2 separate regions of the Homo sapiens genome follow, and region 1 is linked to region 2. Evidence: promoter capture Hi-C in 16 types of primary human blood cells and fetal thymus (Javierre and others, 2016). All regions are on one chromosome and are shown on one strand. Each heading gives the region's core, a stretch centred on a gene start or on the middle of the fragment in contact. The rest is flanking DNA. Distances are from core to core; before and after follow the strand shown. Region 1 holds the start of OR8D2 (olfactory receptor family 8 subfamily D member 2). Region 2 holds the start of ZNF202 (zinc finger protein 202).

Evidence for each region. Contacts are between HindIII fragments. The CHiCAGO score rates a contact against its expected background, and 5 or more counts as called.
Region 1: the fragment with the promoter of OR8D2 here is called in contact with the fragment with the promoter of ZNF202 in region 2 in 1 of 17 cell types (naive B cells); the score reaches 5.4 in naive B cells.

What each region holds. Positions count from the first base shown.
Region 1 is chr11:124,316,730-124,323,058 of GRCh38, reverse strand. OR8D2 (olfactory receptor family 8 subfamily D member 2) reads left to right here and starts at 2,862. Exons shown (of 1, transcript NM_001002918.1): 1 at 2,862-3,797. The coding sequence starts at 2,862. The coding sequence ends at 3,797. It overlaps LOC112268069 (a long non-coding RNA gene), which reads right to left. Exons shown (of 3, transcript XR_002957213.2): 2 at 4,653-4,733; 3 at 1-235. The HindIII fragment of the contact is 6,670 bases long and covers 1-6,329 here.
Region 2 is chr11:123,738,879-123,745,690 of GRCh38, reverse strand. ZNF202 (zinc finger protein 202) reads left to right here and starts at 4,031. Exons shown (of 9, transcript NM_003455.4): 1 at 4,031-4,142; 2 at 5,155-5,274; 3 at 5,499-5,574. RefSeq lists enhancers at 2,849-3,446, 4,436-4,645 and silencers at 4,036-4,085, 4,126-4,255. The HindIII fragment of the contact is 6,844 bases long and covers 1-6,591 here.

The DNA.
Region 1 (6,329 bases), core at 1,613-4,112, 580 kb before region 2:
CCATTGATAATTGGTAGGCACCAATATGATTAGCCCAGTGTGTCAGAGATTGTTGCTGTTCACTGTTCTTCCAGAACACACATTTCCCAGTGTCTCCTGCAGTGCCGTGTGGCATGTGACTATTTTAGAGATGATGGATGCTATTCCAGGGCTACATTGTTCCCTTTTAACTTTCTCTTTGCCCTTTTCTGGGCTAGATGCAGATAACCAATGAAGCCACACTTAGGTGATGAAGCTATAACGAAAACCAGAGAGTGATTGCAATAGAATCAGGATAGAGAATGGAAGGATGGATGGAGCTACAATAAAAAGGGGGCACATAGAGGGCTCTGGGGTGCTGGTGATATTCTATTTATAGATCTGCATGGTGGTTAAAGCTGCTCATTTTATAGTAGGTGGAAGTATATATATTTTCTACATTTTTATATATGTATTTAAGCTAAATTTCACAATACAATAAGGTTATAAAACTTTGATTACAGCTATACTCAAGTGAACAGTAAACTAATCCATGAACAAGATTGAGAATAAGGCCTCAGTATGTGGGAACAACTTCCTAGTACAGATGGCTCACAGAAAGGAGAATCGGCAGAGGTAGGGTAACACTTTTAAAAAACTTAGAGTAATTCAGATCATAGCAAGGAAGAGATGATTGTCTTTACCACACCAGATGATAAATGTAGTCATTACTCTTGATGTCTGTGGGAGAAGAAAGTATAAATACAATCTCATGGTATAAATTTGTAGAGGGAGAGCATCAGGACAAACAGCTAATGCATTTGGGGCTTAAAACCTAATGCATTTGGGGTGCAGCAAACCACCATGGCACATGCATACCTATGTAGCAAACCTGCACGTTCTGCACATGTACACCAGAATTTAAAGTAAAAAAAGTAGTATGTTATATATCATTATGCTTAGCTTAATGAGTAATAAAGAGGGTAAAGTTCTCATTCCATAGCACGTAATTTTAAATTCTTAACCTTTCTACTTTATTGAGATAGTCTTTTCTAAAAGAAATACTCTAGGCATTATTTGTGATAGTTCTGTGATGAAAATAATTTGGGAATATATCAATATAGAAATGTTACGGATATAGGAAAGAATGTGCTTCAATCACTAGACCTATTATTAAGCAGCCTCCCTTGGGTGGCAATGCGGCTGTTAGGCAGGATTCATATCCAACACAGGGTCCATGCATGCACATCAGCCAATAGTAAGGGAGGGTTCCACAAGCCTGGCATGGGAACTAGGCAGGGAAGAGAAGGGGACTTAAGGCAGAAGCAGGAACCTGGACAAAGGAAAAGGCAGAGGCTCACGACAGAGGTGGGAACTTCAAGAAAGTGTCGGACATCATCTCAAAAACCCAGTGCAGAACTCTCAAGCTGCTGCTGGCTCACTCCCCTTCAGCAGCCAGCTCTGTCTCACCTTTCCAGAGTGTACTGTCTCTCTCTAAATAAGCTCTCTGCTATTTTTCTTCAACAAATTCTCTTTTTGGCTAATTCAGTCATTTGGTAGAATATTTTTCCAAGTAAGGCTAAAAATCTAGAATTCCTGAACTTCCCGTAACAGGGCTTGTTAGAGTTGCATTCTGGTAACTCTGATTCTCTTTCTCTTAGAGTATTCTCTAATTCCCCTAATTCAGAAACATGGCTGTCTTCTCAAGTGCTCTTGGAGATAACACCCCACCTGTCAGCTTTTAAATCGATATACATATTGAGTACCCTTAAAACACTGTAGAAGCAAATTTTTATAAATTTTTGTTTGTGATCATAAAAATATGTTTTTATGCAAAATAAAAGCAAACAACATCTCACTCTATGTATGGAGTTTTTCCTCCCTTGACATTTTTTCTCACTTTGGAAAAAAATTATGAAACCTGATGTCTTAGGTAATATACAGTGTTTCAGCTGAAAGCAACACACCCTGAATCCTTTGCTTAAACTTTAGGGGAAACGAAGTCAGGGAATAAGAAATCTCCAGTTCAGATCTCACAGCTTTGAAAGAGAAAGGTCAGTGAGAGTTTGGCCATGAATAATGGATAGCAGGAAAGGGCCAAGGAGGGAAGCGCTGAGTTGCTGATGGTTCAGGTCTTACACCTGAAAGTCAGCCTTACTTCTTTGCTTCTTTGCTGTTTCTGGAACAGGAAAGATCTAAACTAGAATCTCAGGATAGCCCTTGGCACAACATTTCTGTCAACCACATCCACACTGAGTACAAGAATCTCCTGGCCCACTCAAGTTTTCCATTCAAAGAACAGAAGTGAGCTAATGAGGGTCAGAATTGATTAGAACCATTTCCATACTTTTTTTTTTTGTACTAAGGTCTCTTTATAGACGTCTTTTATGTTTCTTATTTCCTAGTTTTAGCAAATGCTAATTATGTTGATTCATGTTGATGGGTAAGGAAACTGAAATGGACTACTTTTATATCATCAGAGCTGGATTAGAAGCCATGTTGTAACAAAGTCTGAAGGTTCTATTGGCATATGCTCAGATAAAGAAGGTAAGCAGTGTTGTTTTAATGGTAGCAATGACAAACTAATTAGATTTGGAAAGTTTGTGCTTCCTCCAGCAGTGAGGTAATTATGGGCATAAGCCTGGAAACAAAATGGGAGGACTCTTACTAAAAGAGGAGCATTCAACAGGGTTTTGGGTGAAATCAAGGTTCTTGGTTATACTCATAATATTTGCCCTTGATCTTGTAAGAGGTCCCTGAAAAGAGGCAATCATGGGACAGATGAGGCTCTCAGGAATGGAAGCAACCAACATGGGGCATGTCATTCTGCTTTGGGAATCAGAAAATAAATCTAATGTCTCTCTTTTCTCTTATTTCTTATTACACATAATACCTTAAAAGACATGGCTACTTCAAACCATTCTTCAGGGGCTGAGTTTATCCTGGCAGGCTTGACACAACGCCCAGAACTTCAACTGCCACTCTTCCTCCTGTTCCTTGGAATATATGTGGTCACAGTGGTGGGGAACCTGGGCATGATCTTCTTAATTGCTCTCAGTTCTCAACTTTACCCTCCAGTGTATTATTTTCTCAGTCATTTGTCTTTCATTGATCTCTGCTACTCCTCTGTCATTACCCCTAAGATGCTGGTGAACTTTGTTCCAGAGGAGAACATTATCTCCTTTCTGGAATGCATTACTCAACTTTATTTCTTCCTTATTTTTGTAATTGCAGAAGGCTACCTTCTGACAGCCATGGAATATGACCGTTATGTTGCTATCTGTCGCCCACTGCTTTACAATATTGTCATGTCCCACAGGGTCTGTTCCATAATGATGGCTGTGGTATACTCACTGGGTTTTCTGTGGGCCACAGTCCATACTACCCGCATGTCAGTGTTGTCATTCTGTAGGTCTCATACGGTCAGTCATTATTTTTGTGATATTCTCCCCTTATTGACTCTGTCTTGCTCCAGCACCCACATCAATGAGATTCTGCTGTTCATTATTGGAGGAGTTAATACCTTAGCAACTACACTGGCGGTCCTTATCTCTTATGCTTTCATTTTCTCTAGTATCCTTGGTATTCATTCCACTGAGGGGCAATCCAAAGCCTTTGGCACTTGTAGCTCCCATCTCTTGGCTGTGGGCATCTTTTTTGGGTCTATAACATTCATGTATTTCAAGCCCCCTTCCAGCACTACTATGGAAAAAGAGAAGGTGTCTTCTGTGTTCTACATCACAATAATCCCCATGCTGAATCCTCTAATCTATAGCCTGAGGAACAAGGATGTGAAAAATGCACTGAAGAAGATGACTAGGGGAAGGCAGTCATCCTGACAAAGAGGGTTCTCATTGGCAGCCAGAAAAAATAAACCATATAAAAAGTTGTTATAGGATCTTTGTAAGTTTCTGTCTCTCTCGGAGAGAGAAAAATTATCATCACTTAAAAATGTATATTTTATATTAGAGAATGATTAAGACATTTTTGGAGATTATGAAACAAAATTTTCTGATGGTCAATATAATCTTCGAAAATGTATTAGAGAAATGGGAGATGACAGAAGAGGAAGGGCAAATAAACATTAAAAACAATTTATTGAACATATTACTTTTGAAAGCCCAGGCTGGTCTTGAACTTCTGGCCTCAAGTAATCCTCCAAACTTGGCCTCCCAATGTGCTGGAATTAGAAGCCTGAGTCACGATCCTCAGCCTTGAAATAGTTGATTTAATGGATGACAGAGCATGATTCACAAAGACTTTTAAAGGCTGGAGTGATAGTCGCATTTAATGAGATTTTAAAAATGTACATGGGTAATATAAGATTCTATACTTCTATAAAAATGGAGAGAGTGGGAAAAACTTTATTTAACTCCAGAGAATTAAGGATTTTTGACAATATAAGTAAAAAGCATAACTACCTAGAAAGTTACTGTTACCTTGTCTGCATTAGCTACATTTTAGTATTTAGAATGAGGAACATTCTAGTTATCACTTGCACAACAGCAATTAGACTGTGTCCACTTGAAAGTAATTTACTTTGTTGATATTACTATTTAAGAGGCCACTGGCATTCTGAAATATATTCTGAGACGCATGGCCATGATGAAGCAACTTGAAATCACACATTCATTGATTTGTTTATTCTTTGGGTCATTCATTTAAGGAATACTCATTGAATGCCCACTACATACCTGTCACTATTCCTCATACTGGTGATAAAGAGATGAACAAAAGTCACAAACTCCTTGCCTTCATTAGATTTAGGTTTTAGCCTGAAAGAAAGGCAATAAACAGGGAGAAAAATACATCATAGAATCTCAGATCATAAAATGTCTTAGAAAATAAAGCCAAGAGGATAGAAATTGCTCACAGATATTAGAGGATAATTAAGTTACACATAGGAGTTACACACAGAAGGGCTGTAGGCTAGTTATTGAGGTTTTAGTAGTTCTTGCCACAGAGCACAAGTAGGCTAAAGAAGACTCTTCCAAAAATCAGAACTATCAAAAAATAATTAGCTATCTTGGGAATTTATGAACTATCCAGCAGTAGGGATTTAAGTACATATTCCAGACAGAATATTCAACCATTCTGTCTGGAATATTTCTGAGAAGAATCAAATGCTGGCTAAGAATATGACCAAACTGATCCCTTTGTTCATTGCTAACACTGAGGTTTTATGATCCATTCATTTCATCACCTTCTGATACTTTCTATTCCATCTCTTTTTATCCTTTCCACTATCTGAACATGCCTACTCCCCCTTTCCTATAATCTCTTTTATTCCCTTTCTCTTTTTCTTCCACTTTACAAGTTCCCATAAATCAGAACTAATTGTTTGGAAGTCCTAACTAGAGCAATCAGACAAGAGAAAGAAAGGGCATCCAAATTAGAAAGGAAGAAGTCAAGTTATCGTTGCTTGCAGATGACATGATCTTATGTTTAGAAAAGCCTAAAGATGCCACCAAAAAAAACTATTAGAACTGATTTGGAAAAGTTCAAATTCAATTTGAACTTTTTTTCTGGACTTTTTGAACTTTTCAGAGAAGTTCAAATTGTTCAGAAAAGTTTAAATTCATTTTGTACTACTGAACAAACTCAGTAAAGTTGCAAGATATAAAGTTGACATACAAAATCAGTAGCATTTCTACATGCCAACAGTGAGCAATCTGAAAAAGAAATTTAAGAAGTAATCCTATTTACAATACCTACAACTCAAATAAAATACCTAGAAATTAACCAAAGAAGTGAAATATCTCTACAATGAAAATTATAAAACATCGATGAAAGAAAGAGAACACACACACACACACACACACACACACACACACACACACACAAATAAAAAGTTATTCCAAGTTCACGGACTGGAAAAATCAATATTGTTAAAATGTTCATACTACCCATTGCACTCAATCTACCAATTCAGTGCAATCCCTATCAAAATATCACTGGCATTTTTTCACAGAAATGAAACAACAATCCTAAAATGTATGTGGAACCACAAAAGATATAGAATAGCCAAAGCTATCCTGAGCAGAACAAAACTAGAGGAACCACATTACCTCCCAAACTGGAGGAATCAAATTATACAACAAGCTATAGTAATCAAAAGAGCATGGTACTTGTATAAAAGCAGACACAAAGACCAATGGAACAGAATAGAGAACTCAGAAACAAATCCATACATATTCTCATTTTTGACAAAAGAGCCAACATACATTGGGGAAAGGATTGTCTGTTCAATACTTGATGCTGGAAAACTGAATATCCATACGCAAAAGAATGAAACTTGACCCCTGTCTCTCACCATATACAAAAATAAAATCAAAATGGACTAAAGACTTAAATACAAGACCTTAAACTAT
Region 2 (6,812 bases), core at 2,782-5,281:
TCCATTCTGTTCCATATACCTACCACAGTGTCTTGTAAGAGCAGTCACTCAAAAAATCATTGACAAATGAAGGACCAGCTAACTGCGCTGACAGAATTCTGATCACATCACATATGGAATATATCTTTTGTATGTAAATATATCCTCTATTATGTAAATATCTCATACTCCATGTTTTCCAAGTAGAAATTGATTACCACTGATATTAGATTAGAATCCCCAATTTATATCATTCACAAAAATAAATTCCAAATCTAACCATAAAAAGGAAAAGCAAAAAGTAGTAGAAGAACATACAGGAGAAGCCTTTATGACTTTGGTGCAGAAAAGATATTCTTAAATAAAACACCTAATTTGAAGCGGGGGAAAGAGTGTATCAGATTTGAAACTTTAATACTACAAAGTTAGACAATAATCTAGAAAGTTAAGGAAAACATTAATTTAATATTAATATTTAAAAATATTCAATGAGATTTATAGAGAAAAACATCTTATACACAGCAGGCTTTCATGAACTTAGTCAAGACACATAAAATTAATATATCTCTTGCAATATATACGTAAAATCATTAGGATCTAGGATACATAAAGAACATCTAACAACCAATTTAAAAAAACAAAAAGTCCAATATAAAAATAAAACTCACAGGAAAACTACAAATTACCAACAAATGTATGAAAGAAAGTTCAGTCTCACCATTAACGATGGGAAGGCAAAGTAAAACAATTAGATATTATTTTTGCCCATTAAACTGGCTGAGATTTACAATTCCGGCAACATGAGGTAAGGGCATGGATACAGGGAAAAAATCTTGTATACTGTTGTTAAGGGTGTAAACAGGTGCATTCATTTGGGAGGAAAACTTGGCAGTATTCATTAAAAGTGTGCAACCTTTGACCCAGCAATACTCTTTCTCAGTATCCGTCTCAGAGTACCATTGCATGTACGCACAAAGAGGGTGATCATTATAGCATTGTTTGTAATCCCAACAATTATAAAAACTTATGTTTTCAACAGGCAAATTGCTATTCAGACTATGGAATGTTATGCAGAAAGCAGAAGGAATAAGGGAGATTTTTATTTACCGCTATCAACAGATCTCCAAGGCCCACTGCTAAGAGAAAACAAATGGAAGAATTCAACATGAACACACAGGTATACACACAAGTACACAGAAAATAATACTATGTACTTTCTGTGGATACATATGTACACAGCACATGAAAATAAAAATATCTGGAAGATAAATACATTAGGGTCATAAGAACAGCTAACTTCTGGAGAGAGAGGAGGAAGCCAGGGTTGGTAAAAATGTCATTAGCGGCCAGGCATGGTGGCTCATGCCTGTAATCCCAGCACTTGTGGGAGGCTGAGGCTGGTGGATCGGGAGGTCAAGAGATTGAGACCATCCTAGCCAACATGGTGAAACCCCATCTCTACTAAAAATACAAAAATTAGCTGGGCATGGTGGTGCATGCCTGTAGTCTCAGCTACTCGGGAGGCTGAGGCAGGAGAATCGCTTTAACCCGGGAGGTCGAGGTTGCAGTGAGCCGGGATGGTGCCACTGCACTCCAGCCTGGTGGCAGAGTGAGACTCCGTCCCAAAAAAAAAAAAAAAGTCATTAGCTTTATCCATTGACAAAATCTCTTTTCTTCGCCAAACTTGTCAGGCTTCTGAAACTTCTCCTAGGGCTATCGGCGTACTTCCTTGTAAAATCTACTGTTAGCAAAGAACTCTAAGTCCTTTGGCAGGAACGCCCCCATCCTTGATATCTGACCATCCTTAATACCTGGTCAGTGTCCTCATCCTCCATCACGCCCCAGGTGATGTCTGATCAACCTGGCCTGTCTTCAGCAAGAATCCTATTAGGTTGACTTAGCCAGAATCCGCCTTAAGCCTGATGTTTCCCCTTAGTAATTTTCAATCCATCGACGTCCCAAACTCCAAAAAAAGTTCCTTGACTATAAATTCCCACTTGCCCATTCTGTATTCAGAGTTCAGCCCAATCTCTCATCCCTACAGCAAGACTTCATTGCAGTGGTTTCTTTACCTTTCCTGGTCCTGAATAAGGTCTCCCTTACCATGCTCTAACAAGTATCACTGAATAATTTTTCCTTTAACACTGTAATGCATTAAATGTTTAGAAGAAGATGTTTATGTATTATTTATGCACTTAATACCAATATTTTAAAATATTCAATGAGATTTACAGAGAAAAATATTTGGTACACAGTAGGCTTTCATGAAATGTATATTTCTCTTTGTATTGGGTAATTTTATGTGTCAACTTGACTAGCTAAGGGATGCCCAGACAACAGAAAACATTATTAGTCGGTGTGTCTGTGAGGGTGTTTCTGGCCAATATGGTGAAACCCCCTCTCTACTAAAAATACACACACACAAAAAAAAAATAGCTGGGCATGGTGGCACATGCCTGTAATCCCAGCTATTCGGGAGGCTGAGGCAGGAGAATTGCTTGAACCCAGGAGGCAGACATTGCAGTAAGCCGAGATCGCTGGGCGACAGAGCAAGACTCTGTCCAAAAAAAAAAAAAAAAAAAAAAAAGAGAGAGAGATTAGCATTTGAATCAGTAGACTGAGTAAAGAAAATCACTCTCACCACTATGCGTAGGCACCATCCAATCCATTGAGGGCCCAAATAGTATAAAAAGGCAGAGGAAAAGTAAATTCACCTCTCTCTTCTTGAGCTGGGACATCATCTCCTCCTGCTCTCTGGCCTTCAGACACCAGCACCTCAATCCCTTTCCAGTTCTCAGGCCTTCAGCTTTAGACTGAATTATACCACCAACCTCCTTATTTCTCCAGCTTGCAGTAAGCAGATGGTGGGACTTCTCAACGTCCATAATTATGTAAGCCAACTCCTTATAATAAATCTCCTTTTATATGTTTATACATACCCCGTGTGAAAGGAAAGTGATTTGGGGCCCCCAAAATCACTAAAGGGAAAATTCATGCTGGGAACTGCTTAGGGCAAACCTGCCTCCCCTTCTATTCAAAGTCACCTCTCTGCTCACTGAGATAAATGCATATCTGATTGCCTCCTTCCGGAGAGGCTAATCAGCAACTCAATGCAACCATTTGTGTCTTATCTACCTATGACCTGGAAGCCCCCTCCCCGCTTTGAGTTGTCCTGCCTTCTGGGTTCACACCTATTAGTTCTGTTTCGCTAATACACTGCCACTCCACCAAAAGTAACTAATCCTTTGGTTCAAACCCAGTAAACAGATCCCAGCAATGTGTCCCATGAAAAGGAAGTGGCACATGGCACGTGGAGAGTGGTGACTTACAGGGTAAAAGGGACAGAGAGCAAAGGAAAATGTCAAGTATGGGCAGAAAGGTCACCGAACGGACAAAAATGAACAAATGAGATCAGGGAAGACAGCCTGAAAGTAAAGAAATACGAAGCAACACTCAAAGGAAAAGAAAGAACAGTGATACCATAACTATTTTCTTTCTGAGCTTCTGATGTTCCATTCAGTTCATGTGCAATGTATCATTTAGTCCTCAGAGTAACGGTATTATTATGCCCGTTTTATATGATGCACAATAGGGTTCAAAGATGGAGAGATTCGGCCGAGGCCCTGCTGCTGATGGTGACTGCAAGAGCCAGTATTCAAACCTAACGCTGCCCTTTTCTACCATGTTGCAGCGGACAATGCAAAGAAAAAAAAATCAAGAAAAACACGTAGAGGTATCCAAATGAAAACAAACACACAAAAGATCAAAAACAGAAAAGAAAAAAGAAAAGAAAAAGAAAACCCTTGCAGAAGGTATGCCTGTAAATGAAAGGCCCAAGATGTTAATTTATTCGCTGCAGAGTGGAGTTAGGGGTCGCGGACGGCAGCTGTGGGGTCCGAGGCTTCTTCGCACTGGGTCCTTGGGGAGCACTGAGCCGCAACCCGCGGAGGGCGCATAGAGAGGATCAAACCTCCCACAGCCTAGAAAGGCTCCTACTCGGCGAGAAGGCGGGGCGAGCGATCGCTTCCGGTTCCGGGCGCAAAGGCCCCACGTGTTCCGACCCGCTAGGCCCCGCGCGGCTCGGATCCGGCGGCGCTGTTTCGGTCGGGAGTGGGTGGGAGAGAAGCCGGGGCAGGGGAGGAGCCGCCGGAGCTGTCGGAGCCGTGAGTCCTGAGTGGGCTGGGCTGGGCCGGGCCGGGCTGGACCGGGCCGGACCAGATCGGGCAGAGCCGGGCAGGGCGGGGAGGAGGGGGAGGGACCGGAGACCCCGCCCCCCAGAGTCTGGGGAAATCGCCGTGTCCTGGGGAAGGGGTGGCGGCGGTGTACTGAGGGTGCCGAGACGTTGTGGTCTCTGTGTTTCCTGGTGGCCGGAGCCAGTATCTCCGGGGACACGGATGGCGCTCCCGGCTTCCTTTCCTTTCCAGCCACCGCCCTCCGCCCCCTCCTGGGGCCTGCAGAAATGTAGTTAGTCCGTACCTCGTACCTCCTAACGCTTCCGCGCCAACTGTCCCCCCGGAACCGAGGGAGGAGTGGTCTAGGCCCCTTTATTTTCCGCAGCTTTTTCTTACCCCTCCTCTCAGATTGCTTAAGATCATCTCCGCGGGCTCCTTGCCCCGGCTAGCCCCATCTCCTTACACCACCAAGCCCCCCTCAGCCCCCCAGCACACACCCAGATACACTCACCCGTGATCTTGTCACCTGTGATGATAGTAGTCCTTGGCGTCCATTTGGCCAGAGGCTTTTCAGCTGCCACTGTGACAGACCCTGAGGTCCCCTCAAGCCAGTAGCTGCTGTCTCCACTTGCAACTTTCCTCTCCTCCCACTCCTAACAGCCAGTTTTGGCACCTCTTCTCAGCACCTGCGTTACTTTTAGCAGGAGTATACCTACTTCTTGAGTGTCTTGATTAAAAATTTGTTTTTGTGCCATGGATAGGCTGTGTTCCTTCAGAAAGGTGTCAGTCTAATTTTTGTTTTTCTGAACAATGAATGTTCTCATCTTCTAGGCGCTTTGATAACCCTGTCTGCCTTGGAATCTGTACTGACCTCCCCAGAGGGAGACTCTTAGACCCAGCCTTTCTTGAACAACCTTGGTCCTGGGGAGCAGCGCTAGATCCCAGGCTCTCAATTAGAGGCTGGGCTTAGAACTGTTGCTTTTTCTCTATCCACGCTCTGCAGGTGACACCCAGGGCAGCTACACTCAGAAGCCACAAGGAATGCTAGTGGAGCCCCTCATCCCTCCCAGCTTCTCTTCCAAGCTGCCCCGTGGGGCTTGATCCAGGAAGCTACTTCAGAAAGGTTGTGGGATAGCCTTGGGAGGAGGTTTGTTGGTGGGAAGCGTGTGAACGCGGAGCAGTCTGGGATAACTTTCTGCTGTTACTATCTAGCATAAGAGGGTGGGCAGGGTTGGAGAGAGGACAGGAATTTTTCCTCCTAGGACCAAACGCCTGGGATTCATAATCTTTCACCCTTTCTCCTCCAGCTATACCCTTTTTGTACTCTGTGTATATACTATATTGCAGTAGACAATCATTCCAAGGGTACAACAAGGTTTACCACAATGTGAGGGACTCAGCCATTGCAAATTGTACAGATGAGGTAAGTTACAGGTTTACATTTTTTTTTCCCAGTAAATTTGGCACAGATTTAAAATGTGAAACAGTTCTATACCCCTTGTTTTTGCTGTTCTCTCACCAGCAAACCCTTTAGTTTGGCCAGCAATGGCTTTCTGCATGAACTTCAGATTTACTTCATTTGCTAGGTGGTGGTTCTCAAACTTACTATAAGCACCTGAAGGGCTAGTTAAACGCATATTGCTGGGGCCCACCCCTAGAGTTTCTGGTAATAGGTCTGTGCTGGGGCTTGAGAATTTGTACTTCTAACAAGGCTCAGGTACTGATGCTGCAGATCTGGGTTCTTCACTTTGAGAACAACTACCTTTTGGCCAAATGTGATATATGTATTGCAGTAGGTTGAGGTTCAGAATACCTTTGTTTGAGTACTTCTGTGTTGGAAACTAGTAATCTGATCTTTTATAGATAATCACTTAGGTCTGAATATTTTGTTCGCAAAATTAAGAAAGCGTACTTAAAACAACTGAATGCTATATGCCAAATTTGAGGTGAAATATTGATAAGTTCTTCCCCTTGATTTTCTTAATTCTCTTGATAGGGGCTTCACGTTTTGATCAAAATATTACACCTGTATTCTGGGCTTTTGCTGTGAATTCCTAGTATTGCTAAAATTCTGCAATTTCTTAACTACCTGTTAAGTTCCTCAAGGTCAGAGCTTCTGCTTTTTTTATCTTTCTTTGCCCAGCACCTTGAATAGTGTGGGACACGTAATTGACGCTCAGTAGATATTTGTGTATTGAACTCCATCCCTTGTCCTCCTCCCCTCTTGATGTTTTTCTCTACTGGCCTTATGCTACACAGTAAAGCAGGGCATGATTATGCCACTTGATTACCCCCAAGAGATTGGAATAAATGCTTATGCCAAATTCCTACAGCTATCCCTGTGAATGGTTTATTACCCAGGAGCCCTGACACTGGCTGATTTCTGAATTTTCAGTGCTTCTGTAATATATACTAGTTGGGGGAGGAGAAATAGAAAGCTTAAACTCAATGTGCGTTTATTGAATACCTTTTCTACTAAGGGCTCCACAAAGTGGTAGGCACTGGGAATATAAAAATGAATAAGGAGACCCTTGCTCTCGAGGGCAGGGCCCACAGTGGGGAGACAGACGTTAAGCCATGCCCACGACAAGAATGACTTCTGAGATTCCTTCTCTGGATCATGATTTAGTCTTCAGTGGAAACCTGGTACTCCTCAGATTC